Linked DNA regions of Homo sapiens: regions 2, 3, 4, 5, 6 and 7 are each linked to region 1. The links are contacts of gene promoters, found by promoter capture Hi-C in blood cells and fetal thymus (Javierre and others, 2016). All regions are on one chromosome and are shown on one strand. Each heading gives the region's core, a stretch centred on a gene start or on the middle of the fragment in contact. The rest is flanking DNA. Distances are from core to core; before and after follow the strand shown.

Region 1 (3,420 bases), core at 527-3,026:
TTGACATATCACAGAATATGCTAAATCCTTTACCTATAATTTTCATTTATGTCCACATTTCTAAATAACATATGTAAAATACTGGCCAGGATTTCAAGTCATTAAAAATGGAGAAGGGGTGGGAAACAACTGAGTGGCAACTACACTAGAGAAAACAACTTATAAAAAAGAAAAAATATGGACTATACCAGTCTCCTAAAAAGACTCACTGACTCAGAATAGAACTAAAAATCTATGCCGGGCGTGGTGGCTCACGCCTGTAATCCCAGCACTTTGGGAGGTTGGGGCGCGCGGATCACTTGAGGTCAGGAGTTGGAGACCAGCCTGGGCAACACTCTGAAACCCCGTCTCTGCTAAAAATACAAAACTTAGCTGGGCGTGGTGGCACACGCCTGTAGTCCCAGCTACTTGGGAGGCTGAGGCACGAGAATCTCTTGAACCCGCGAGGCGGAGGCTGCAGTGAGGAGAGATCACGCCACTGCACTCCAGCTTGGCGACAGAGCGAGACTCGGTCCCAAAAAATAATAATAATTAAAAATCTACTTAACCTGTAAACCGGGGTAGAGGCGCGGATTTCCCAGCTGAAACCGACTGCCTTTCACTGCAAAGGTCTGTTACATCCCAGCGCTGCCCACCACCCAAAGTTAACACCAAAGGAGTTCAAAACTCCTCAAGAGTGGCCCACAGAAAAGGCGGGGGACTTCAGGGCTTGCCAAGATCCCAGGAGCCGGCCAATCCCGATTCTGCAGACTGTTAGGTCCCCCGACTTTTTTGCACACCTACCCTCTGGTCAACCGAATAATATCCCCTGGCTGTATAAGACCTCCGATCTCATCCCACACGGAAATAGTGATGCTGCCCGTTTTATCTGCTACTTTGCACGATCTCACTTCATGGCCGTCTTTGGTTTTGGTCACGCGTCCTGTGAGGATTTAAAAATCAAAGGGAGGGGTTGTTAGATAATGAGGACATCCAGAAAGGCTAACTCCTCCTCCGGTATTTTAATACATCTGGAAGGTGGGAAGTGACCAAGCCCAGGGCTCCCGCCTCAGGTAGGATCCGATCTCGGGCGGAGGCCACTAGAGCCACGTGGGTGGGGGAGGGGAGGGAGGAGGAGGGGAGCCCCGGGCGCGCAGCGGCCGGCGCCCCTGTCTCCCGCCCCGGGAGGCACAGCGGGCGGTGGAGTAGGCTGCAAACCCCACTTACCTATCTCCAGGACAATAAAGACGACATTTAAGTTTTTCAGTCCGGGCTTAATATCTCTTATAAAAATAAGTGGGTCGTTGACCCTATTCATATTGGGACAGGCGCGGCTACGGCTGCGGAGACGCGAGTGGGCAGGGCGGGGTCAAAGCTTCCCACCCTCCCGGGACAGGGGCGAAGGCAGAGGGGCGACCTTGGGCAGGGGTGGCGAGAGAAGGGGCAGAAAGCCGTTAGTCAGGGACCGGGCAAACCAGCCCGGACAGCACTGAGCCTAAAAAAAGAAAAAAAAAAAAAAAAAAAAAAAAGGCTCACAAGTTCTAAAGAAAAAAAGGCGAACCACTCCGCACACCAACCCCGCTCCCAACCGGGCGACAGGAAGGCAAGCGTACTAACTGCCCCGTTCTTTGGATAAAAGGAAAAAAAAACGCAGTGAGGGGACACTTCTGCCCTGAGTCCCGCTCACTCACACGGGCGCGCGCCCAGCCTGTCCCGGGCTCCGGGAAGGAACGGGCTGTGACAGCGAAACGGGAGCGGAGACAGAACACCGCACACCCAGCGTCCCAAACAGCGACTGATGAACACGCCCGCGCGCCGGCAGGACCCTCGGCCCGCCCCTCCCCTTGTGAAGTCACGCTGCGTCGGCACGCCTGCTGCCACGCCCGCCTGGTGCTGGGGAGGGGAAGCAAAGGGGCGGGACCCGGCCGCCGCAGCCCGCAGAGCTTCCCTCGCTCCTCCCCGGGGGCTGTCAGCGCGGGCTCCGCCCCCTCGTCCTTCCAATCGCTCTCGGCCCCGCCTCCCCCGCCCTCCCGTTCTCCACCCACTTCAGCTGTCGCCGCGCAGCAGCAGTTCTGTTCGGTTTCGCCTTCCTGCTGTGCAGTCTTTTGACGCTTGCTGTCCAACTTTGGAGTTTTCTTGCCTTTTTTTCTCTCAGAGTTGAGCCCCTGCCCGGGCCCTTTAGTCCCTCGGTCACGAGGAACGGTAGAGTTTAGAACCTGTGAGTACGTTAGAAAGTTCGCAGTCGAGGAAGAACAGGGTTCGGGCAAGGGCAGCTGGTCCGGTACCAAGGGAAAACAGGCTGGGATGGTGAAGGCGTCAGTGGCTACAAGGCTGGAAGTTTAGCACCAGAAGGGAATTTGGAGATCAATTCAACCGCCTCATTTCAGGCATACTTAAATTGAAACCCAGAAAGATGAGGTAATTTGCAGAAGGTCACCCAGCAACCCCTGAGCAGGCAGGACTGCAACACAAATGTCTGACGTGGGCTTCCACTGTGTAATGCTAAGCAGATAGGACGTAAATTCCTTTGCAGACTTCTCATTTTTCCTTACCCCCTGCCTCTCATATTACACACCTTCCCCATTTAGCTTTTCTTCTTTTACTTTGCACTTGCTTTTGTACATCTAAAAGGAATTAATTATTCAACAGCAGTGGGAACCCTTGAAACATAATCTGGAAAAAAAGATTAATAAAGTTTTTTTTATGTCGCGTAGTGAAAAGAGCATGTGCTTTAGAGACAAACCTGGGCTCCAGCTATTTACTTGTGAGAGCTTTAGGTCAATTGGCTTTTATTACAGCTTTTTAACCATAATAAAATGGGGATCCCTGCCTAGCAGAAGATTGATTAAATGGATCATAAATTGTCCAACTAGTGCCTAGCAAATAGTACATACTCAGTATTTTCCCCTTTTTAATCCCCGTTTTACAGGCGATGGAACTCACCAGAGACCAGATAGCTAGAGAATGGCTGAGCTGGGTTTTAAATCTAGTCAATCTTGACCCCAGAGCTCTCCAGCCTAAAGGTAATGTTTAGACTTAACTTCCAGTGGTGTCATTATAAGAGTCAAAAACAGACTGAAGAAATAAAATAGCAGAATAAAGTAGTGGGGCATTAAAGAATCATCTAGTTAATTCTTGGTGATGATAACAGAAATGTTGGGAAAAGTGTCAGAAGCCTTAATTTTCTCCCCATTCTTTCTGAGTATCTTTAGATCAACCACCACTTCCCAAGTATTTGCAAACAAGCAGCATAGATATTATAGCCCTAGAAAGAGTTGGAAACATTATCACAACATTAGCAAGAGAGTCAAGGCATTTTTAAGGAAACAGAAGCTTCCATTTCATGAACTAATAAAGCCCAAGGTGCCAAAGACACTGATGTCATACTGGAAAGTGGTGTAAAATAAAATTATAAGCATAATTTCAACATCAAATAAAACA
Region 2 (3,420 bases), core at 269-2,768, 4.5 Mb before region 1:
GGAGACAGCATAGCTCTGTAGAAATGAGTGGCAGCGTATGTAACCTGGCATTTTGAACCCAGGAGCACAATTTTATTAAAGGAAAATAAACCTACTTTCTCATTGATAACACTGTTTTTTAGTTTTATGGTGAACTGTTCGGAAGTAATTTTCAACAAGTGCTTATTTTATAAATATTAGACCGTGTACCCCTAGGATTGTGTATTTTTTAAGAAAACTGGTCCATAGAAGCGGTGCAAAAGTTTTAAACTCATCTGCCTCGGATCCTCCTCCTCTGAGCAGATGCTCAATTAAACTTTTTCTAGTATCTTAATAATTGGAGGTATTAATAGATGTTTTATTTTTGAGATACATATTGTACATTTTAGATCTTTTTTTTTTTCTAAAGTAGGGATCCAAAATTGAGGTGAAATATATTTGCTTACATGGCAAGACTTTTTAAAAGTAGAATTTCTGTAATTGAAGACCATCCTTTTTTGTGTGTGAATAGAATGGTTGCGGTTTCTCTTGGGATCATTGATTAGTGAATTACGATTTGGTTAAGATAGAATGCGTTTTTAGGAAGTTGGAGGTTTGACTAATCGCTGTGTTAGCATATGAGTAACAAATTTGAAGAAGATACAAGCATTTTTATGGCTGACGTTTCTAATCAGATAATTTTATTTTTAAGCTTGCTCTGTTTTACTTTTGTTAAGTGAACATTTTAACATGTTTTAAAGCTCTTTGATAATTATAAGGGAGAATTTCCTTATGAAAATATTTTTGCTTTAATTTTAGAGACACAAGAAGTCAAGGAATTCAGTTAATAACACTTTCACTTAATCGTTAAATTGCCTTAAAATTGCATGCATAGTATATTGTAATTCACATTTTCTGTATGTAAGATTGGCAGTTAAGAATAGTATTCTGGCCGGGCGCAGTGGCTCAAGCCTGTAATCCCAGCACTTTGGGAGGCCGAGGCGGGCGGATCATAAGGTCAGGCGTTCGAGACCAATATGGTGAAACCCCGTGTCTACTAAAAATACAAAAATTAGCCGGGCATTGTGGCGCGCGCCTGTAGTCCCAGCTACTCGGGAGGCTGAGGCAGAAGAGTTGCTTGACCCGGAAGGCCGAGGTTGCAGTGAGCCGAGATCACGCCACTGCACTCCAGCCTGGGCAACAGAGGGAGACTCCGTCTCAAAAAAAAAAAAAAAAAAAAAAAAAATAGTATTCCTAGGCTTACTACTTTTAAAGGATACTGATTGATTCTTCTTTTCATAAAGAAATCTTCTGCACTGTATGGGTATTTGTTTTGTCAGAAACATTAGCAGTCATTTATCTACTACCTTTCCACTTAGGAAAACTTCAAATGTCAGTTGCTTTAGTTTTTCATAATATTGATGACAAAATTCAGTGATTTTATGTTTAAGTACTGTAGTTTGTATTCTATGCTGGGCTGTTATCAAAGGCTATTTCTTTGAATATTTCAGTTAAGAAATGTTCTTATAAAGTTACAAGCATGTATTTTTATTTAAATATGTTGTAATGTTGCAATTTTCAGGGCATACTTTATTAAGTTTTTTATTATCCTTTTTCCAGAACATTTAACCTCAAACTTCAGTGCCATTTAAAACATATATATTAGTTTCTTTTAATATTTATATGCATTGTATTTTGGTTCATCCCTGACCCTTTGCAATTACTCCAAAAGAGGGTGTAGTGATACTGTAAGCATTGAAAAATTTTAACAGTGAGATGGTAATTTCCTCTTTAATCCTTAAAGGCAGATTCCATTTTGCATTGTAATAGTTACTGAATAAATAGTACTTAAGCGGTGCTATTAAGTAAACAATATTTTACAACAGAAACCCAATTTTCCGTCTTGTGAGTGACAAGCACCATGCATTTGTTGCCCACCCCGGAATCCCCCACTCTATTTCCGTTTTTCAACCTTTTATCCTGGTTCACAATTAACAGGTTTAACTCTTTTTCTGGAGGTGGGAAGACACAGCATTAGGCCTTAGGGTCTTGGCACAGAGTCAGGCCTAGGAGTCATTGCCTGACACTTCAGCCCTTGGATAGTATATACTAGAATGGTTGGATTAGAGTTAGTTTAGCTGACTTCCTATTGTGATTTTTAGAGGATTAAGTTTATGAATTATATTTTCTGTTCAAAATATTTTAAAAAACAAAACCTGTTGGCAGAATACATATGAGGAATATAATCTCTTCCTTGAAATTGAAAATCATCATCATTTCCATCTTGATACCAATACTTCTAATCAATGACTAATTAAAAACACATACTTCTGCCACACCAGGAGAAAGTTCTTCCTTTACTTTTGATGGACGTTAAATCTCTTTTTCAGTTTCCTAGGGAAAGCTTGCTAGCAGTAAATGCCTTAAATGCCTATGTAGAAAGGAGTTGCTTCCCTTAGAATCTTCGGGCTTACTTTGCTTCCTGTTGCCTTTCCAATGTACTTCATGATGATCTAGACTTATCAGTGATAAATCTTGATAGGACACTTACCTGAATCTCCTGATTTTTGGAGGCTCTTAAAAGAGTGATGTTCTTAACTGCAGTAGGTATTTGTATTAGTAGCTTATATTAAAAACAAGTAGCCACCTTGTCTGGAAACAGTGGTAAAAACAAAAGGTCTATTGGCATTACATTATAGTATATGACAAAATAATTTTATCTGTGTTTCCAGACTTTGTGGCTACCTGTTTAGAACTGACATTTTGTAAGTGCAATTTAAAATAGTTACTTTATTTGTCCAAATGCTGAATTAAGCAGAGACTAGCTGCATTCAGAGCTCCAGTACTGTAAATTCAAGATGGATCTCAAGTTCTCCTAACCCCTCGAAGACATGAGATATACCTACAAATTCTTTTTTCTATATCTCATAATTCTTACAATTCAGTTCATCAAACATTTTTAAAATTCCTACCGGGTGGCAGATACCATGCTGGTTGCTTAGGCACAAAAGTAAAAGGATGCTGCCCTTTAAACACTGAACAGAATTGCAATCTAACATGTTACATTTTGAGGTAAAGAAGTATGCCAAGGATCCTCTTATTTGAAGCATAAAGGAGAAGCCTTTAAATCAGCCTGTGGTTTTTAGGCAAAGCTTCCTGGGGGAGAGGCCATTCTGTGTTGAGTTTTGAAGGATGTGTAAGAAGAGTTAGCCATTTAAGGAAAGTAGAAAGGCTTTTTCAGGCAAAGAAGTATAACAAAGATGTGGTGGCAAAATATGAAATATGAGTGCGGCAGGAAATGTAGCTGGTGTATACTTGGCCTCAGAGGCCTTTATGTGTCATGCTGTAAGTACTTGAAAGCTTGTAGATACTGGGGAGCTAATGAAGGAATCAAAACAGACAATTTGATTTTCTAAATGTCTTTATTATTGTATATTCTATTTTTTAAAAACTTTCTTATTT
Region 3 (3,420 bases), core at 326-2,825, 4.5 Mb before region 1:
GACATGTTTATATTGTAAATGCACTTTTCCATGGAATAATTTAGGGAAGTGTTTTAATGTTAAATTACTAGTTGCTAGCATGTTATGATTTCATATCCTGAGATAGCTCTGCAGATAAGAAAATATTTAAATATATGACAAAAAGTAAAATTGTACATGTGAGTTTACATGTTAATGAAATAATTCAACTTCAAATGAACTTACCAGAATGTTTTGCATATCAACAAAAAAAGTGGCTTGAGTTTTATTATAGTTGGTGTAAACTGAACACAGTGAAGACATTGGAATTTAATAGGTTCTCTCTCTAAGGTGACTCTTATACCATGCCTCTATCAACATAATTTGTTTAGGAAAGCAGTATGAAGTTTAAGCCAAAATAATTTCTACTTTATAGATGCTCAAGAGACATTTTACAATTGAAAATGTCTTTCAATTACAAATATTTTGAAACTTCGTAAGATTTTCATTCTCTGTGGTCTGTTATATGAGAGAGATCCTTTAACTAGAGCAAAGAGGGAGTTAGAAACCTGATCAGGGATATTCTTTACAAGTTGGAGCAGAGGAAAGAGTAGCATGCCTTCGTATTTTAACGCAAATGTCTTTTTCCTCCTCCCAACCTACTTGAGATCTGATAAGGTCTGGAAGATGGAGATATTTGGTATGCAAGTGTAGAGTTTTTTAATCCTCCAGAATTTCTAGAGTAGAAGATACTTAGGTATAGTTAAATATTCTGTATTTTTAGTCAAACATATTTATTAATTGAATATAGAAGAAAATGTTGACACACTCAGACAGCTTACTGAATTTTAGATGTCTTCTGCATCTTAGAATACAAGCCAGTCATTCAGAGTTCTAAAAGTATGCATAAAAAATTACAGCACCGGTAGGTCTATTAACACAGTGCCCGAGTCAGCGGTAGCAAGACTGATGTGATCATAAAACATGACATCAGGCTCGTCTGAAGTTCTTGTGTGAAATTCCTAGTGAGTGAGGAGGCTCAGCTTAAAGCCATCTGCAGAGTGGCCCCTCATTGTGGTCTTTTGCTGGGACCAATGCAAGAGACTAGGGAGAGCAAAATGTTTGCTTATGGCTAGAGACTATATCCAGCCCTAATGATGGGGAAAGTTAGTCCTTTTCGGGTAATCTTTTATGAATTTTCACCTGATGACCGTTATATTGGTCTGTTATCATGTTACGATAACTGTGATCTCATGACCATGTTGCTGTATCAGAAGAAATAGTTTGACAAATGGTAACAACAACCTGATGTTCCCCCTTTAGACCTTTAACTTCTCAAAATTTTGGTAAGTTTCCAAATTCTTTAATAATAACTTAAAACTTTTTGAATAACTATCAGGTCACTTTATTTGACCACATGGTGAATTCCTTTAATGTCTTCAGCATTTGTTAAGGAAAAGTTTTCTCTACTTGTGTGTGTATGTGTGCACATGTGTGTATGTACAGGTGTATGTATATATCTATAGATAGATACAATACATTCTTTAGACACTTTTCAAGATTCTTTGCTGTGGTATATTGTGCTCAACTCAGGTGCCAAAGGAGCTTTTTTTTTTTTTTTTTTTTTTTGAGATGGAGTTTTGCTCTGTCTCTCAGGCTGGAGTGCAGTGGCATGATCTCAGCTCACGGCAACCTCTGCCTCCCGGGTTCAAGCAATTCTCCTGTCTCAGCCTCCTGAGTAGTTGGGATTACAGGCGCATGCCACCGTGCCCAGCTAATTTTTGTATTTTTAGTAGAGACGGGGTTTCACCATGTTGGCCAGGCTGGTCACAAACTCCTGACTTCAAGTGATCCACCCGCCTCGGCCTCCCAAAGTGCTGGGATTACAGGCGTGAGCCACTGCGCCCCCGCCCAGGAGCTCTTTTCTTATGACATATAAATTATGACATTTATATTCTTTATATGACTTTATGTTCTCTTCTTATGACATTTAAATTCTTTAAGTAGTTTGTTGGTCCAATAAACTAGACGTTGTATAATCTAAATTGAGCCCTTGTATATCTAAAACTGATGAGTTGTTTCTAAATTGTTGATTGTCCATTTACTTGCCTTTGGTATTAAGATAATGCAAGTAAAGTTTAGTAAGTCATTGGATAATGAAATGATTATGTTTCTGAAGACCATATTATATTTTTAATTTTTAGAGGAATCATGCCATCCCCCAAAAAATCAAGAAATATTTGAATTTTAAATTATAAGTTCATTTGTTAAAAGACATTTTTACAAATGTCTGAAAATCTTAAAATACTTTACATCTACCTTTAAGTAGTAGAATACAGAGCTGTAAATTTCCATGCCTTTTTTCCTGATATTAAGTTTTATAGTAAAAAAGCAACTAGTGATTGCACAAAGAATATAAAAATCCACTCTTTTTACAAAGGTGTGAATTTAAATAACGTTATTGATTGGAATATGAAAATAGACCAATCATTTAAGAGCTTTTTAGCAAATGATTCAATTCTTACTCTTTTTCTCCCAAGATTGAAAAGCATAATGTATTTCTCTAAAGTAGGAATCTAGAGAGCCCCTGTGAGTGGACAAATGTCAGTAACACTTGAACACATGAGAAGATAAGTGTTATGTTGTGATAATTTAAAGTTAAATTTGCTTTTTGGGTAGGATCCCTAAATAGATGGGATTTTTAAATAGATGATATATAGATGACAATTGCAATTGTCATTTTAATTATTTTCCCTACAGTAAAGAACCTAGCTCTGAGCAGTGAAATTGTAATGGCACTTTAAAGGAAGTAAGCCGTTAACTGTTCTCTAGTGGAGCGATCTCCAACTGTTTTGGCACTAGGGACGGGTTTTGTGGAAGAAAATTTTTCCACAGGACTGGGGGTTTAGGGGGATGGTTTCAGGATGATTCAAGTACATTACATTTATCATTAGATTCTCATAAGGAGCATGCAACCTAGATCTCTTGCACGTGTGGTTCACAGCAGGATTCGAGCTCCTTTGAGAATCTAATGCCATGGCTGATCTAACAGGAAACTGAGCTCAGGCAGTAATGCTTGGCACCGCCCCCCACCTTCTATGCAGCCCGGTCGTGGCCTGGGGACTGGGGACCCCTGCTCTAGTCAGTAATAAGGTACTTGTGCCAGAATATAAATCAACACATTGCTTCCTTTATCAAAGAAGTCTTGTTATTTAAAAAAAGTCAACTGAGCCAGTATGATTAGTGATGTAATTGATTTTCATTCTGGCACAAGCCTCTTTCATTCTGGACAGCTCACAAATAGTTAATGGACCATGCTTTGAATAGCCTTCCTCTAAGCAACATTTATAAATACTGATATTTTAGAACTGTTTACATTTCTTCTGTTTATTTTTGAATTTTCAGTTTGATATCTTGTCCTTATTCATTGTTGTATAAACAACTGTACTTTAATTTCAAGTA
Region 4 (3,420 bases), core at 296-2,795, 4.4 Mb before region 1:
GCTTCTTTGTCTCAAGGGAGATATATTATTTTACTCAAAATGGGGGGAAAAACTCGAAACTTTCCTCTGGGGTTTTATTTGTAAATACTTTAGTCTTTTGGGGAAAGTACAGTTTAAAAAGAATAGAAAAAGCTCAGAAGCAAATAAGGAGAGATCAATCTCTGGATTTTAGAGCAGTGACAAGAACCTTGCCCAGTTCCCTAGTGCATGTTGAGAATATCGCAGGACCTTGTAGAGAACCATCCAACACCAAGAATGTGGCTTCTAGGGCTAAGATAAAACCAAAAGTTGTGTAGGGGTTAACGTTGTCTCTGGAATGAGCATGGGAGGGGGAAGATAGCATTGTGCCTGAGAAGAGTTTCTCATGTGGATCTTATTACAGCTATTCTTTTATTTTGGACAACAACAACATGAACTGAATGTTCTTCACTATAAAAGCAGTAGATTTCATGTAACTAGTTCTAACCGTGTCTCTTGGTGGAAGCTGGAAGTATAAAACCACAATACAAGTCCCTGAAGGTAATTCTACCATTGCTAAGGGCACTGTAGGTTGGCCAACTCACCAGTCATAGCCAAGGTCTTTCTCCCTTGCCTGCCTCCACTATAGAGGCTATTCCAGCTCAGTTGGAATTAGGGATGAACTGGAAGTCTGCTGGGTGGCTTCTGAAAGGCTTTTGATACCTTGATGAAAAGCAGAAATGCTGCTGACAGCCTTATACCTCCTCACCTTGTCCTCAGGGACAAGGGAATGTTGGAGATGCTGGCCCTGACATTATTGACCCACAGAAGTCACTGGAGCAGTAACAGCAGTCATCTCCTTCTTGACTTTTCAGTATATGATTAAAATAAACATCTGTTAGATTAAGCTATTTTCTTTTGGGTTTTCTATTATTAGCAGCTGAAAGCATCTTAATTGACATAATTATCCATGTTTCCCAAACTCACATTCCTCATAATGTGGCAAAGATATGTGGCACTAAGAGTTCTGTGCCCAACTATGTTTTGGGAACACCATATTTAACAGTGTTAAACTTGCATTTTTACTGCAGGATTCTTTGGAGGCTTTAATTTACACAAGGAATCTTCAAATGAGGATTGTAATATGTAATGTATTTCATAATTACTTCAACCTTACTAACATCTTTTTAAATATTAAGCAAGGACACTTATTTGGAAAACAAGGTACTAGATGTTAAAGCAATGTGGTCCAATAATCTCCAAAGATCTGGCTTATCCCGGAATTGAATTCAAGTTATTTTGTGGGAACACATCAGTTCTTGTACTGGAGAAGGGCCTGGGAAGGGCAGGCTCTTAGAAATTATTGATCCAAGTAAGACCATTTCAGTAATCCTCTTTGTAGCACTGTAAGCTTCATACCTTTATTAGAAAGCAGCAGTAGGTTCCAATACAACATGCTCTGGTTCTCATGGGCCCTCAATATCTTGAAGCTTGAATTTCTTGATACAAAGTCATTGTCAAGGCCTTCTGCTGGGGACTCAGCTTGGCCATGCCTTGGCTTCCAGAACCAGGAGACTGCACTCTCATGCCTCCTTTAACTCTATCAATTTACCTCTTTTGCAATATTTTCCATACCTGAAAATACAGGTCTTTCCATATCTTCTGACTTATCTATCAAAGCTTTCTAGTGAGAATAGGGAAGTTCCAACATTTTCCCATATAATTTACACACACACACACACACACACACACACACACACTTTTCCATCTTTTTAGATGGAAATGTAACTTTTTCTTGCAGGAAACAAGCCAATCATCCAGCTTGTTGAAAAGTCCTTCCCTGTAAAACACATTACTAAAGGCCAGGTGCAGTGGCTCACCTGTAATCCCAGCACTTTGAGAGGCCAAGTCTGGTGGATCAGTTGAGTCCAGGAGTTCAAGACCAGCCTGGGCAACATGGTGAAACCACGTCTCTACAAAAAAATACAAAATTAGCTGGGTGTGGTGGCAGATGCCTGTAGTCCCAGTTACTTGTGGGACTTCGGTGGAAGGATCGCTTGAGCCCGGGAGGTCAAGGCTGACATGAGCTGAGGTCGTGCCACTGCTCTCCAGCCTGGGCGACAAAGTGAAACCCTGTCTCAAAAATAAAATAAAATAAAATAAAATATACTAAAGAAAATGTTCAAGAATGCCTCCAATGGATAGGGTGGGTGAAACTGTGGTTGGGTCAGATGAATTATCTCTCACGTTTAGGTCCTGTGCCAACCCTGTGCTATGATCAACTCCCAGAATAAGCAAAAAATGGATTATTTTATAATTAGTTGCTAGGATTCCACTCTCTGTGGTTTCACCACTGGAATTTAAATTTAGTGATGGCAATACCCCTTTGAAAGGCCAAAGGAAAGATATATGCTAATTATACTGATATTTCTAGCCAGATTGTAAAATGCAACTGGGTCACCAATTACAGACACAATTGCAAGTGGACAGTTGCTCCAGCTATACTGAATAACAAACAATGGCTGCAAAATATATGTGGGGAAAAGAATAAGAGGGAATTATTGAATTAACAAAACACAGATTCTCCGTGTTCTATAATGCATATCACAATCCTCCTTTACTCTCTCTCTATATATGTCGATAATCATGAATAAATCTATGAGACTTAATGATCTTTCCTCATTTCAGCCTGGATCATTTTATGACTAAATTTTGTCATTTTTAGAATTGAATTAATTGCCTGTATAGTCATAGAAAGTCAAATTTTATAGATAAATTATTGTAGTTTGTTTCTTCTTTTGAAAGCAGTCGTTAGCCCAATTTAATAAGAACGTGATTAGGTTTTAAATTGGGATTTGCACAAAAAGGCCTCTGAAATAAGTGAATATCTAAGTAATCACAAACTAAAGACCATAGAAAACAAGTTTAAAAGGAGAAAAAGACTTGGCCATTTATTTAGAGGCCTTTTTGGCTGCTTTAACCTGTGTGAACATCAACTACTTCTTTCTCTTACAAAGCAGCCGTAATCAGCTGTTTGCTTCTTTGATTCGTTCTGGTCCTAATTCATTTAATACTAATGATTAAGCATGGGATACTACAAATAAACCTGTCCCCTTTCTTCCCAGAAATAGAATAATTACAATGGCCAATGGCTGGGGACTTTTTTTATTACTAAATTTGCTAAAGATTTAATTACTTTGGCTGGGCTCCAGTACCCTTAAAGAACATTACAAATAATCCCACGATATTGCATCTAAGTAGTCAATTTAATTTCAGAAGTTGTTTACAATATACATTTTTATGAAATGGTGTGTGTGTGTGTCTATATAAAAATATTTCCTGTGGGTATGTTTATATTCTGAGACATATGATGTATAAATTAAAAGAGAAAGAATAAAGTTTGCCAAGGGCCCATTATGAATCAGGAATTATATGTGGTTCTTTTATTCAAGATGTTTCATT
Region 5 (3,420 bases), core at 578-3,077, 4.4 Mb before region 1:
TTTCTTTTTTTGGCATGATCCCTACGCCATTCACAGGCAAAGGGGAATGGATGATCCATGACTCCTCTCTGAGACTGAGCCTAACTACCATGAGCATATTGTTGCCTGATCCCTGAACAAAGCCTGGGGTCTATTAGCAAAAGGAAAAGTGAGGGAACCAAAGGAGCCTTACTCTCCAGGACATCTGCACGCCACCAGAGTGCAGAATGTAAGCTGTCTTGCATGCGTATGAAAAACATAACTCTAACACTGACCCCAAGGTCTCTCCTGCTGTGCATAACTAATAGGCCCTGTGACTGCTTACTGCTGTGATGCAGAACAGACTTCACAGGTGCTCCTCGGCTGGGACTGGTGTGGCAGCGTGGGAGGCAGGGGCATACTGTCACTATGACTGAGCAGAGTATTATTGGAAATGGTGTTTGACTCCCTTCTTATTGGTGCAACTCAAAAGGGCAATGTAGTAAACAGTTCCAGACAAATTTGAAGACAAGATGTTTTTCATAAGGAAGGAAAAAATTCTCACAACAAGCCAAATGTGCATCTTTTCAGATAGGAGCCCTTCATATTCACTGGAATTTCTTAAAAAGTAACTTTCCACATATTTCCCCCAAAATAACCTATTTCACTAAGAGTAAAGCACGTGGCACCTAATTTATCTTCCCTGAACAGAGTAGAGCTGAGTCACTGACACAGAACTGAAACCTTCGCACCCAAGCAGGCTCAAGGGACTGAGCCAGAACTGATTCTCAGATAGCTCAACCCTCCCTCCCTCTCCCACAATAAAGGTTCATATCAAAATCACACTCTGAACATCTGACTCATATCTTGTGATTATTGAACATACTCCTCCTGTACCAATGTTCCTGTGGACATTTGACCATTTCCATGTTCATTTCTTAGGGAAAACAGGATTGTTTAGCTGGAGGTTGAATCAAATAGATATACATATTGAAACCAAGTGTCCTCTCTTGCTGTCTGAACATCCAAACAAAGCTAGGAGCAGCCCCCTTACCATTAATCAAGGACCAGATAAACAGCTATCTGCTGAAGAGGACTTCTGCAGCAATGGCTTAGCCCTCACCTCTGGCACAAGGAAGGATGGATGGGTGGGCTGCAATTAGTTGGCATGTTCAAAATAAGAGACAAGTGGCAGGGAACACCTCTTGGTTTGACTTCAGCTTGCATCACTGTGGCTCTTGACTGCCATTTCTACTTTTCCTGTGTAGATCGAAAGCTCTAATCCTTACCCCTAGTAAGTGCAATAGTGCCCTTTGTACAGTTGGAGACCTCCACCTCCTAGTTTGAGCCAGAATGTGTTCTGTGCGTAAATACATTACATGGAGTCCAAGAGATTTCTTTCTTTCTTAATTTACACATAATAATTGTACATATTCATGGGGTATGTAAGGATGTTTTGATACATATAATGTATGATGATTAGATCAGGGTAATTAGCATATCCATTATCTCAAACATTTATCATTTCTTTGTGTTGGGAACATTCAATATCCTTCCTTCTAGCTATTTGAAACTACATATTGTTAACTGTAGTAGTCCTACAGTGGTATAGAACACTAGAAACGTATTCCTCCTCCCTTGCTCTGATTCTGTAACCCTTAACAAATCTCTCCCTAAAGGTTTCTGTTAACTCCTAATAAATGATCGCGTGGGTTGGCAGAGTCAAGAATGAGGTTAAATGGAGAATTCTTGGCCTGAGGACTATGAATTCCTTTTTTTTTTTTTTTTTTTTTTTTGGCCCATTTGGTTCCACGTGTGCCTCCAGATCTCTGGTGCTGTGGAGCAGTGACTGTGCTGTGTGCTGCACACCTCACTCTCTTGCCGCTTTCCCTGGTCTCCATCAGGACTTTACCAAAACACTCAAGTGCTGTGGCATCTGAGAATGTCCCTCTATGCACTGTCTGTCCATATAGTGAGATAAGGGAGGTGCTGGAAACAATTGTTCTCTTCCTCTATGATTCCTGCAAGTATTGTTTTGCAATTGTGCTGCCCGCCTTGAAAATCACATGGTGCCCCACTGGCAGCTTTATGATCATTTCTCTAAATGAAAGTGAGAGGTTATCGAATTTGTCTAGTTTAGTGTGAGTCACTTATATGCCTGGGAAATGAAGTCCTATCCTGTGTTATTGATACTGGAAGCTGCACAAAAGGAATGAGTCTCTGGAGTTTGGAACTCACCTCATGAATCTCACACCAACCAGTGCTGTCCTGGCTTTTCATTGGGATGGAATGAGAATCAAGTCCCCATGGTGGAGGTTATCGTGAAAACCCCAGATTTTAATAGAGAGGTAATTTGAGTACATAACATATTGAACTTGAATATTATGCACTTGAAGGAAAAATATTTCCTTTGTAGTGGGCAGCCTCTATTATGTTTTGGAGGAATTTTCCAGTAAATCATCTAACAGCTGCTTTACTGTATAGGCCTTGAAATTTTATCTGTTCATTGGTTACAGACACTTTTGCTTTTGGAAACTTCACATGCTTCTCTTTACCAGTAATATTTTGTTCCCAAAATATCGGCTCCTGGGGAGGATTTAATAAAGGCTGACCCAACAAGACATGTTTTTGAGCAAACCTTTTGGATGTCTTTGGCTAGGAACCATGTCCTATGTAAGTGTATTCTATGTAAGATTATTACTAAAAATCCAAAAAGCAACCTACAGATTTTGTGACAAAAAGAAAATGTTAACCATCTCTGAACATAAAGGCATTTTGCATCTGTGAATGTAGAAACAGTGATTATAGTGGGTGCTAGTAGAGGTATAGAATGTATGTGTGTGTTTTGGAGGAGTGGCAAGGAAGAAACAATGGGACAAGCATTGGCAAAAATATGGCTGGTGGAGATTCTTTCCTTCAGACTGCAGATTGAAGACACCCTTCACAGACAGGAGCCACTGAATAAACACCTCTGAAGAAGATAGAAAGAGAATAGCTTGCTAATGCCGTGCTAACTGAAGTGAGCCTGCAATTCTCAAAATATGATCCATTTGAGGGTTACCTGGAAGATGCTTATTCCAGAATAGAGGCATGATGTGTTGATTTTTGGAAGGGGCTCCTGGCCAACAGCAATTGAAAAACTGAAAAAAATGGAGGCTGAAAACTCACCAACCATGACTTCAGTTCATGGGGCACAGTCATTATCTATGCCCTTTAAGAAAGAAAGATTCCACATGGACAGTGTGTGAAGACAGTGGAGAGGGTGAAGGAAGAGCAGAAAGGTTTGCTCTAAGAGGCCCATCTGACACTGGTCACAGGTCAGTATAAGGCAGAAGAGAGGAGGGCAGGAGGCTTAGCTTGGAGTTGGTAAATGAAAGAGTTTTCAAGGAGATTTTCCAGTCATAAATTAGAGAGAACAAGAGCAGAAGAGGGGGCTATTTATGGAAATATTTGCAATAGGTG
Region 6 (3,420 bases), core at 661-3,160, 4.4 Mb before region 1:
CCCACCAAAAAGTGGGCAAAGAATATGAATAGACAGTTCTCAAAAGAAGAGATACAGCCAATAAACATGTGAAAAAATGCTCCACATCCCTAACCATCAGGGAAATGCAAATTAAAACCACAATGAGATACCACCTTACTCCTACAAGAATGGCCATAATTAAAAAGTCAAAAAACAATAGATGTTGGTGTGGATGTGGTGAAAAGGGAACAGTTTTACACTGCTTGTGGGAATGTAAATTAGTACAACCATTATGGAAAACAGTATGGAGATTCCTTAAAGAGCTAAAAGTAGAGCTGTTAGGTAGTTAGGTAGACATTAGCAGCTCGGAGGGGGTGAGAGAAGAAAGCAGAAGGGCTGTCACTAAGACAGGCCCTGGCCCACCTAAATTCAGCCCCCAAATCACCATAGCTCCACCCTAATGGACAGAATTTGTGATAAAGTCTGTGGCCAGCACATCCTGGGGAAAGAAAAACTGGGGCACAGATAAAAATTTCCTAATGTGACACATGCCCCGTCCATCTAGGCCAGGGGTTTTCCAAGCTTTTGGCTTCCCTGGGCCACATTGAAAGAATCATCTTGGGCCATGCATAAAATACACTAACACTAACAATAGCTGATGAGCAAAAAAAAAGAAAAAAGAGAAAAATTGCAAAAAATCTCATAATGTTTTAATAAAGCTTACAAATTTGTGTTGGGCCACATTCAAAGCTGTCCTGGGCCACATTTGGACAAGCTTGATCTAGGCCATAACCCTGGGGAACCCCATCCTTATTATACAGTCATTATAGTAAAATTTACTTGTGGTTTTGCCCCTCTGAGTGGGCTTTTCTTAACGAAAGATCGGTAAAAACATGCTCAGTTTAACTTCAGCTATGTAACTATAAACTGCCAATCAAATGACATCATCCTGTCACTCAAACACAGCCCAGGCCTCAACTCCTCCCATAAAAGCATCCTGAGCTCTGCAAAGAGTGGCTGATTTCACTTCGTAGAAGTTGGCCCACTCTCCCTTTGAGAGTGTATTACTGTGCCTTAATGAACTTTGCTTTGAGCTTGCACTTTGCTGTTAGTTTGCATTTCTTTGCTCACTATCACAAGAACTGAGATTGCTGGTCCAGAGCTCCAGCTCTGTTGATCTCGGTTAAAGGATCCATCCCAAGGCAGCATCCCTGGTAACAGAACTACCATTCCATCTAGCAATCCCACTACTGGGTATCTACCCAAAGGAAAAAAAGTCATTATATAAAAAAGACACATGCACACCCATGTTTATAGCAGTACAATTCACAGTTGCAATAATATGGAACCAACATAAGTACCTATCAACCAATGAGTGGATAAAGAAGATGTGGTATATATACACCATGAGTGCTACTCAGCCATAAAAAAGGAATAAAATAATGTCTTTTGCAGCAACTTGGATGGGTCTGGAGGCCATTATTCTAAGTGAAGTAACTCAGGAATGGAAAACCAAATACTGTATGTTGTCACTTATAAGTGGGACCTGAGCTATGAGGACACAAAGGCATAAGAATGATATAATGGACTTTGGGGACTCAAGGTGGGAGGGGGTGAAGGATAAAAGACTACATATTGGGTACAGTGTACATTTCTTAGGTGACAGGTGTACTAAAATCTCAGAAATCACCACTAAAAAAAACTGAATTTTAAATTTAATTTCCTTCCTTCCTTCCCTTCTTTCCACTTCCTTTCCCCCTCCCCCTTTCCCTCCCTTCTCCCCTCGCCTCCCTTCCTCTCTCCTTTCCTTTCCTTTTTTTGACAGTCTTGCTCTGTTGCACAGGCTGGAGTACACTGAGGCGACCTCGGCTCACTGCAAACTCTGCCTCCTGGATTCAAGCGATTCTCATGCCTCAGCCTCCCAAGTAGCTGGGATTTACAGGCTTACACCATGACACTCAGCTAATTTTTGCAGCATGTTGGCCAGGCTGGTCTGGAACTCCTGACCTCAGGTGATCCACTGGTCAAGGCCTCCCAAAGTGCTGGGATTACAGGCATGAGCCAACACACCCAGATGAGTTTTAAATTTTCTTTCACCTTCCAACATGTCTTTCTGCTTCCTGGCCTTCCTCATTTTAAGGCACAACCATCCACCAAGAGGTTCAGGCAAAAAAAAATAACCCTAGGAGTAATTTTACCTTATCATCATCCCTTACATCTATTCTAGCAAGTCCTAGCAGATTTTCTTCCAAAATATATCCCTGATTTGTCCTCTTCTCTCCATCTTTCTAATTTTGCCTCCTTCTAGTTTAAGCCACCATTGGTATTTCCCGGGCCTATTCCAGTAGGCTCCTAATTGGCTTTCCTCCTACCCCTCTTGCCCTGTTTGCGTTTATGATTTCTCCATGTAATTAAAATAACATCCTTCCTCACTATGGTCCTGGCCTTCTTCAGGCCTTTGGACATTTCAAACTCATTCCCCTACTTGGACCTGTGATCTAGCTGCTCTTTACTTCCTGGGAAACTCATTTCCAAAGTATTTGAATGGCTGGCTCATTTTGGTCATTCAGATCCCAGCTCAAATGTCTCCTGGAAGATGTGTTCATTGATGACAGTCTCTCCCATTACCTTGTTTCATTTTCTTTTTGGACTTTTTACCAACTCAAATTATTCATTTATTAATTTACTTATTTTTTTCTCACTAATTTTCCATTTCTCTTTCCTAGAACAGAAACTGGGATCTTGGCTGCTCTCTGTATCTCTCATGCCTAGAATGGTGTCTGGCCTACTGCAGGTAGGAAATATTTGTTGACTGAGCAAGATGAGGATAATGAGTACAAGTATCAGTTCACAAAGAGAGAAGCATGGCAAAACAACAACAACAAACCAGATTCTGGACTCTGTTTTAAGTTGTACATTTGATTTTCCCAATCTTATACTCCATCCTAAGGTAACAAAAAAGCTGCCACACTGCCTCAAAGGAGGATGTAAAATAAGCTCTAGCACTCCTTGCTTCCTTCCACACATGCTACAGTTTCAAAAGCAGGAGGTAAAAAAAAAAAAAAAAAAGTAGTAACAAATAACAACATAAAAAGTCAGAACTCAGCAGCTGCATAAGCTTACACAATATATTTTAAGGGAAAAAAAAAACATAGTCTTGTAAAAAATTCCCTTAGAATCAGCACAAGTTTGGGCATAAAATTCCTAAGCAAACATTTGGTTCATGTCTAATAAAATCATTTTAGCAAAAAACATCCAAACCATAAGAGAAAACACAAGATCATAAATGTAACTGAAGTTCAAGCTCAGGGAACCAAAATATCAGTAATTCAATTTCTTTTCTTTATTTGGTCTTTCATATTTGGTTAAATGGAGGAACCAGTTTTAGTCCCCAGATACCTTCTTTTAAAATGGACTTCCATATTTATAGATTAGTAAACCAAAAGCATACAGACAGCT
Region 7 (3,420 bases), core at 619-3,118, 4.0 Mb before region 1:
GGAGGTCAAGGTTGCAGTGAGCCATGATCACAACACTGCATTGCAGCCTAGGTGACAGAGGGAGACCCTGTCTCAAAAAAACCAAACAACAACAACAACCACATATTTAATTTTAAAAAACCAAAGTCAGCTTTTTACTCTAAAGATTAGCTGTTACAAAACTGAGACTTAATACACACCAACATCATAATTAAGGAAAGCATATACCCAGAAAAGGATAATTTTTGTTTTGAGTTTTATGGTATAAAATTAAATAAATAAAAAATACTTACTCTTTGTTGTTTGTAGTGCTTAAACATTCTAATGCAGTGTTCAATGATAAATAGCAAGTAAATGCCTCCTAGAGCAACAAGTCCTTTCAATACAGCATCATATTCTTCCAAAAACTTGTTAGATTCATGTCCATGAGAATGTCCATGCCCATGTGCATGTTGGTGACTGTGATCATGTCCACCCTGAGACTATTAATAAGAACAAATAAAACTTCTAAACAAATAATTGAAATGCTATTTAAAATTTTGAAATTATAATAATTATAATCTCCTAAATGACACAGAAAAAATACCTTTCAAGTTTTAAAGTGCTCCCCTAGATATTATCTCACTTAGTCTTCCATTTAATTTGCTTTACTCAGTTGTCCAAAATACTACTACATTTTACAGTAACTCAAAGACACCAAGTCAAATGCTATAAGAATAAGATACATACTACAGTGAGAGAATCAAGCCAGAAGTAACAATAGGGAGTGATGGGTTCTTTGTAAATTGAAGTGAACATGATCTACTTACATGCCAAATATTTAGTAAAAATGAAACAAAACACACAAACTAATTCACCAGCAGTCACTTGTGATTCCCTGTAATCTAATTCTTTCTTAAACTGATTATCATATATTTTTTCTTTTAACTTTTATTTTAAGTTCAGGGGTACAAGTGCAGGTTTGTTACACAGGTCAACTTATGTCAGGGGGAGTTGTTGTACAGATTATTTCATCAGTTTCTTCTCTTATAAAATTATTTCAGAGGTAATAAGGTCGCTATCTCTGCATATACTGTGGAAAGTTAGCAAGAGGGTATCCTTAAATATGTAATTTTCTATATTTTAAAGCTTTAGCAATCATAAATGTATGTATAGAAAAGGTTATGTTTCAACATTATGAAATGTACAAGTATCACAACAGTAATCTTATAGAACATAAGTTAGATAACTGCACTTAGGTATCTTTCTTCGTTCTAAAATTTATTTGTATTCTTTTCCTGTTAACTAGTGGTCAACCAAAGAGATATCTAAACCTCTCAGAGGATATCAGACCACTCAAAAAGGTAACAGCTAGGTTTAGTTAACCCTTCTTAATACAAAAACAAGTTGAACAGCACTTAAATACTGTTCTCACTTCAATAACTCTTACTAGGCCCAGTTCTAAAGGAAACTGTTGCTATTCTTGATGGCTAGTAGAAATGGTGAAACAAAAACTTCATATTCACAGCCTTAAGATTCATTAACCTGTTTATTAAAAAAAAAAAAAGCAATGCCATATATTGCTGTAGATACTAAATCTGGAATTCTCAACCAAGAGTGCAGAAGAGAGGAGATATACACAACACACAAATATAATCCTGTCTCCCAAATTCTCTAGAAGGGAAATACTCAATACTTCAATTTTATATTTGGAAAAGAAAAATCCCCATTGTTTTCATAATTTGAAGTAAAAATAGTAAGAGTGAATTAAATACTCTTAGCTGGTGATAGACAGCTATCTACCTAACTAACTATTGATAGGTTATAGAGAGCAACTTTTAAAAAGGTTGGTAAGCATGGTACTAGGAATATGGGCTTGTGATCATATAATTAGAAGTGTCCCCAAAGAGAAGAAAAGGACTGGCATGACAGGTGAAAAGATAAATGCCCCCATGTATAAAGAGCTAAGTGTAAAACAGCGCACTGAGTGTATCTGCCTACTCCCGCTCAAAGATGCTGATGGCATACCACCTACAGGCATAATCATTACAACATATCTTATGCATTTCTCCTAAAGGCTAACCTGATATGCTACACAGATAAAAAAGACCACTCACTGCTACTGATATTGCAAATTTTAATCCAATGAGTTTTTTTTAAAGACTATTGAAAGCAAAGTTGACCTAATGATTCAATTTATTTAAAAAAATATTGCTATTAAAACTCTGAAAATGGAGAAAAAAATACTTCATCCTATAAGCAAATAAAACAATACAAATACTAGATTACTGTGCTATAGCTTGCTAATGAAGGACCCTTTCAGCTTAAATATTTTTATTTTAAATTTTTAAAAACATTAAAAACATTTCTTACATGGGGCAGTAGATGAAGAAGGGCGTCTCCACTCATTGTTCCTACAGCTAATGCAACAAGGAATGTAAGAAGGAATTTGAAGCATCCTTGGTTAATGATAGGAACCAAGATCACGCCTAGCAAGGAAAGCAGGCTAATGACAGTGATAGAAATGATACCACAAATCCAGGCTGTAGAAAAGAAATTAAGAGTCAACATTAGTATAACAATTTAAACCAACAGACTACCAAAAAGAATAAAAATATAAGATAAATGAATCGTAGAAGGTAGACTATTTTACCCAGATTATGAAAGCTTTAAGGCATTGTTTAAAAACAAAACAAAAATATGACATATAACTAACTTAAACATTTTTAAAAAGAATTAAGACACTCAGATCAAGTTATAAATAGTACCTTCAATGGCCCACGAGATAAGAACCAGTGACTTAAAATGACTGAAGGCTGTGATTCACTTAATAGCTAAACTATAAATAAAAATTTCCCAAGTCTAAAGGCAGAGCCACAACAATAAAGCTGTTTATTTAAAGAATATAATTATAAAACTCACCTGAGAACATTAAAAAAGCCAAGTATCTATTTAACGTGTTACAATCTTTGTAAATCTTTCTAATACAGAGTTTAAGAAATGTAACATAGCCCCAAATGGAAATATATTCATATGATGAGATAACAAAAAAGTCTTATTACTGGTAGCTTTATTGTTACAAAGGTTAGTTCAGTCCTATTTTTCTTGATTTTTTTTCTCCACACCTGGTTCCAAACTCCCATTCCTCCAATTTGGGTTTCTGTAACAATTTACCACTTAAAAAAAAGTCACTATATAATTTTAACTGGCTCAGAACACAAGAGAAATGTTTTCACAATATGACTTAAAGAAAAATAGGTATGGTGGGGAAGGGGAATTCTGTATACATGTCTTTATCTAGGTCATTCACAAACAGGTAAGACATCAGAAATATATGCCAGTGGTTTGGGGGCTGGACATTTTCATTACAATTTCTATTATTGGCCTAAAATGAAATAGAAATGTTATTAGTTTTTAAAATTCTGCTTATTTTAAGATCTATCTACAGAAAATCTCACTGAA

What was found. Contacts are between HindIII fragments. The CHiCAGO score rates a contact against its expected background, and 5 or more counts as called.
Region 2: a fragment that was not itself captured here is called in contact with the fragment with the promoter of NABP1 in region 1 in 14 of 17 cell types (fetal thymus, total B cells, total CD8 T cells and 11 more); the score reaches 25.0 in fetal thymus.
Region 3: a contact is called between a fragment that was not itself captured here and the fragment with the promoter of NABP1 in region 1, in 8 of 17 cell types (non-activated CD4 T cells, fetal thymus, total B cells and 5 more). The highest score is 17.0, in non-activated CD4 T cells.
Region 4: a fragment that was not itself captured here is called in contact with the fragment with the promoter of NABP1 in region 1 in 4 of 17 cell types (total B cells, naive B cells, non-activated CD4 T cells and 1 more); the score reaches 10.3 in total B cells.
Region 5: a fragment that was not itself captured here is called in contact with the fragment with the promoter of NABP1 in region 1 in 3 of 17 cell types (naive B cells, M2 macrophages and total B cells); the score reaches 10.6 in naive B cells.
Region 6: a fragment that was not itself captured here is called in contact with the fragment with the promoter of NABP1 in region 1 in 7 of 17 cell types (naive B cells, total CD4 T cells, total B cells and 4 more); the score reaches 15.0 in naive B cells.
Region 7: a contact is called between a fragment that was not itself captured here and the fragment with the promoter of NABP1 in region 1, in 1 of 17 cell types (total B cells). The highest score is 5.7, in total B cells.

Annotation. Positions count from the first base shown.
Region 1 is chr2:191,676,492-191,679,911 of GRCh38, reverse strand. It overlaps NABP1 (nucleic acid binding protein 1), which reads right to left and starts at 1,776. Exons shown (of 6, transcript NM_001031716.5): 1 at 1,207-1,776; 2 at 784-922. The coding sequence starts at 1,297. RefSeq lists enhancers at 1-605, 1,433-1,935, 2,145-2,224 and silencers at 1,075-1,134, 1,735-2,084. The HindIII fragment of the contact is 1,958 bases long and covers 1,357-3,314 here.
Region 2 is chr2:196,166,853-196,170,272 of GRCh38, reverse strand. All of the region lies in intron 1 of STK17B (serine/threonine kinase 17b), which reads left to right. Among named protein-coding and RNA genes, the nearest start is that of STK17B, 3.0 kb to the left of the region's middle. RefSeq lists an enhancer at 3,043-3,112. The HindIII fragment of the contact is 1,692 bases long and covers 673-2,364 here.
Region 3 is chr2:196,133,945-196,137,364 of GRCh38, reverse strand. STK17B (serine/threonine kinase 17b) reads left to right here. Exons shown (of 8, transcript NM_004226.4): 8 at 1-3,420. Among named protein-coding and RNA genes, the nearest start is that of STK17B, 36 kb to the left of the region's middle. The HindIII fragment of the contact is 5,241 bases long and covers 1-3,420 here.
Region 4 is chr2:196,116,978-196,120,397 of GRCh38, reverse strand. No RefSeq gene overlaps it. Among named protein-coding and RNA genes, the nearest start is that of DNAH7, 50 kb to the right of the region's middle. The HindIII fragment of the contact is 190 bases long and covers 1,451-1,640 here.
Region 5 is chr2:196,098,726-196,102,145 of GRCh38, reverse strand. No RefSeq gene overlaps it. Among named protein-coding and RNA genes, the nearest start is that of DNAH7, 32 kb to the right of the region's middle. RefSeq lists enhancers at 554-653, 924-1,073, 1,094-1,183. The HindIII fragment of the contact is 5,493 bases long and covers 1-3,420 here.
Region 6 is chr2:196,074,473-196,077,892 of GRCh38, reverse strand. No RefSeq gene overlaps it. Among named protein-coding and RNA genes, the nearest start is that of DNAH7, 7.3 kb to the right of the region's middle. The HindIII fragment of the contact is 2,343 bases long and covers 739-3,081 here.
Region 7 is chr2:195,705,697-195,709,116 of GRCh38, reverse strand. It overlaps SLC39A10 (solute carrier family 39 member 10), which reads right to left. Exons shown (of 10, transcript NM_020342.3): 4 at 2,332-2,501; 5 at 273-461. Among named protein-coding and RNA genes, the nearest start is that of SLC39A10, 50 kb to the right of the region's middle. The HindIII fragment of the contact is 1,518 bases long and covers 1,110-2,627 here.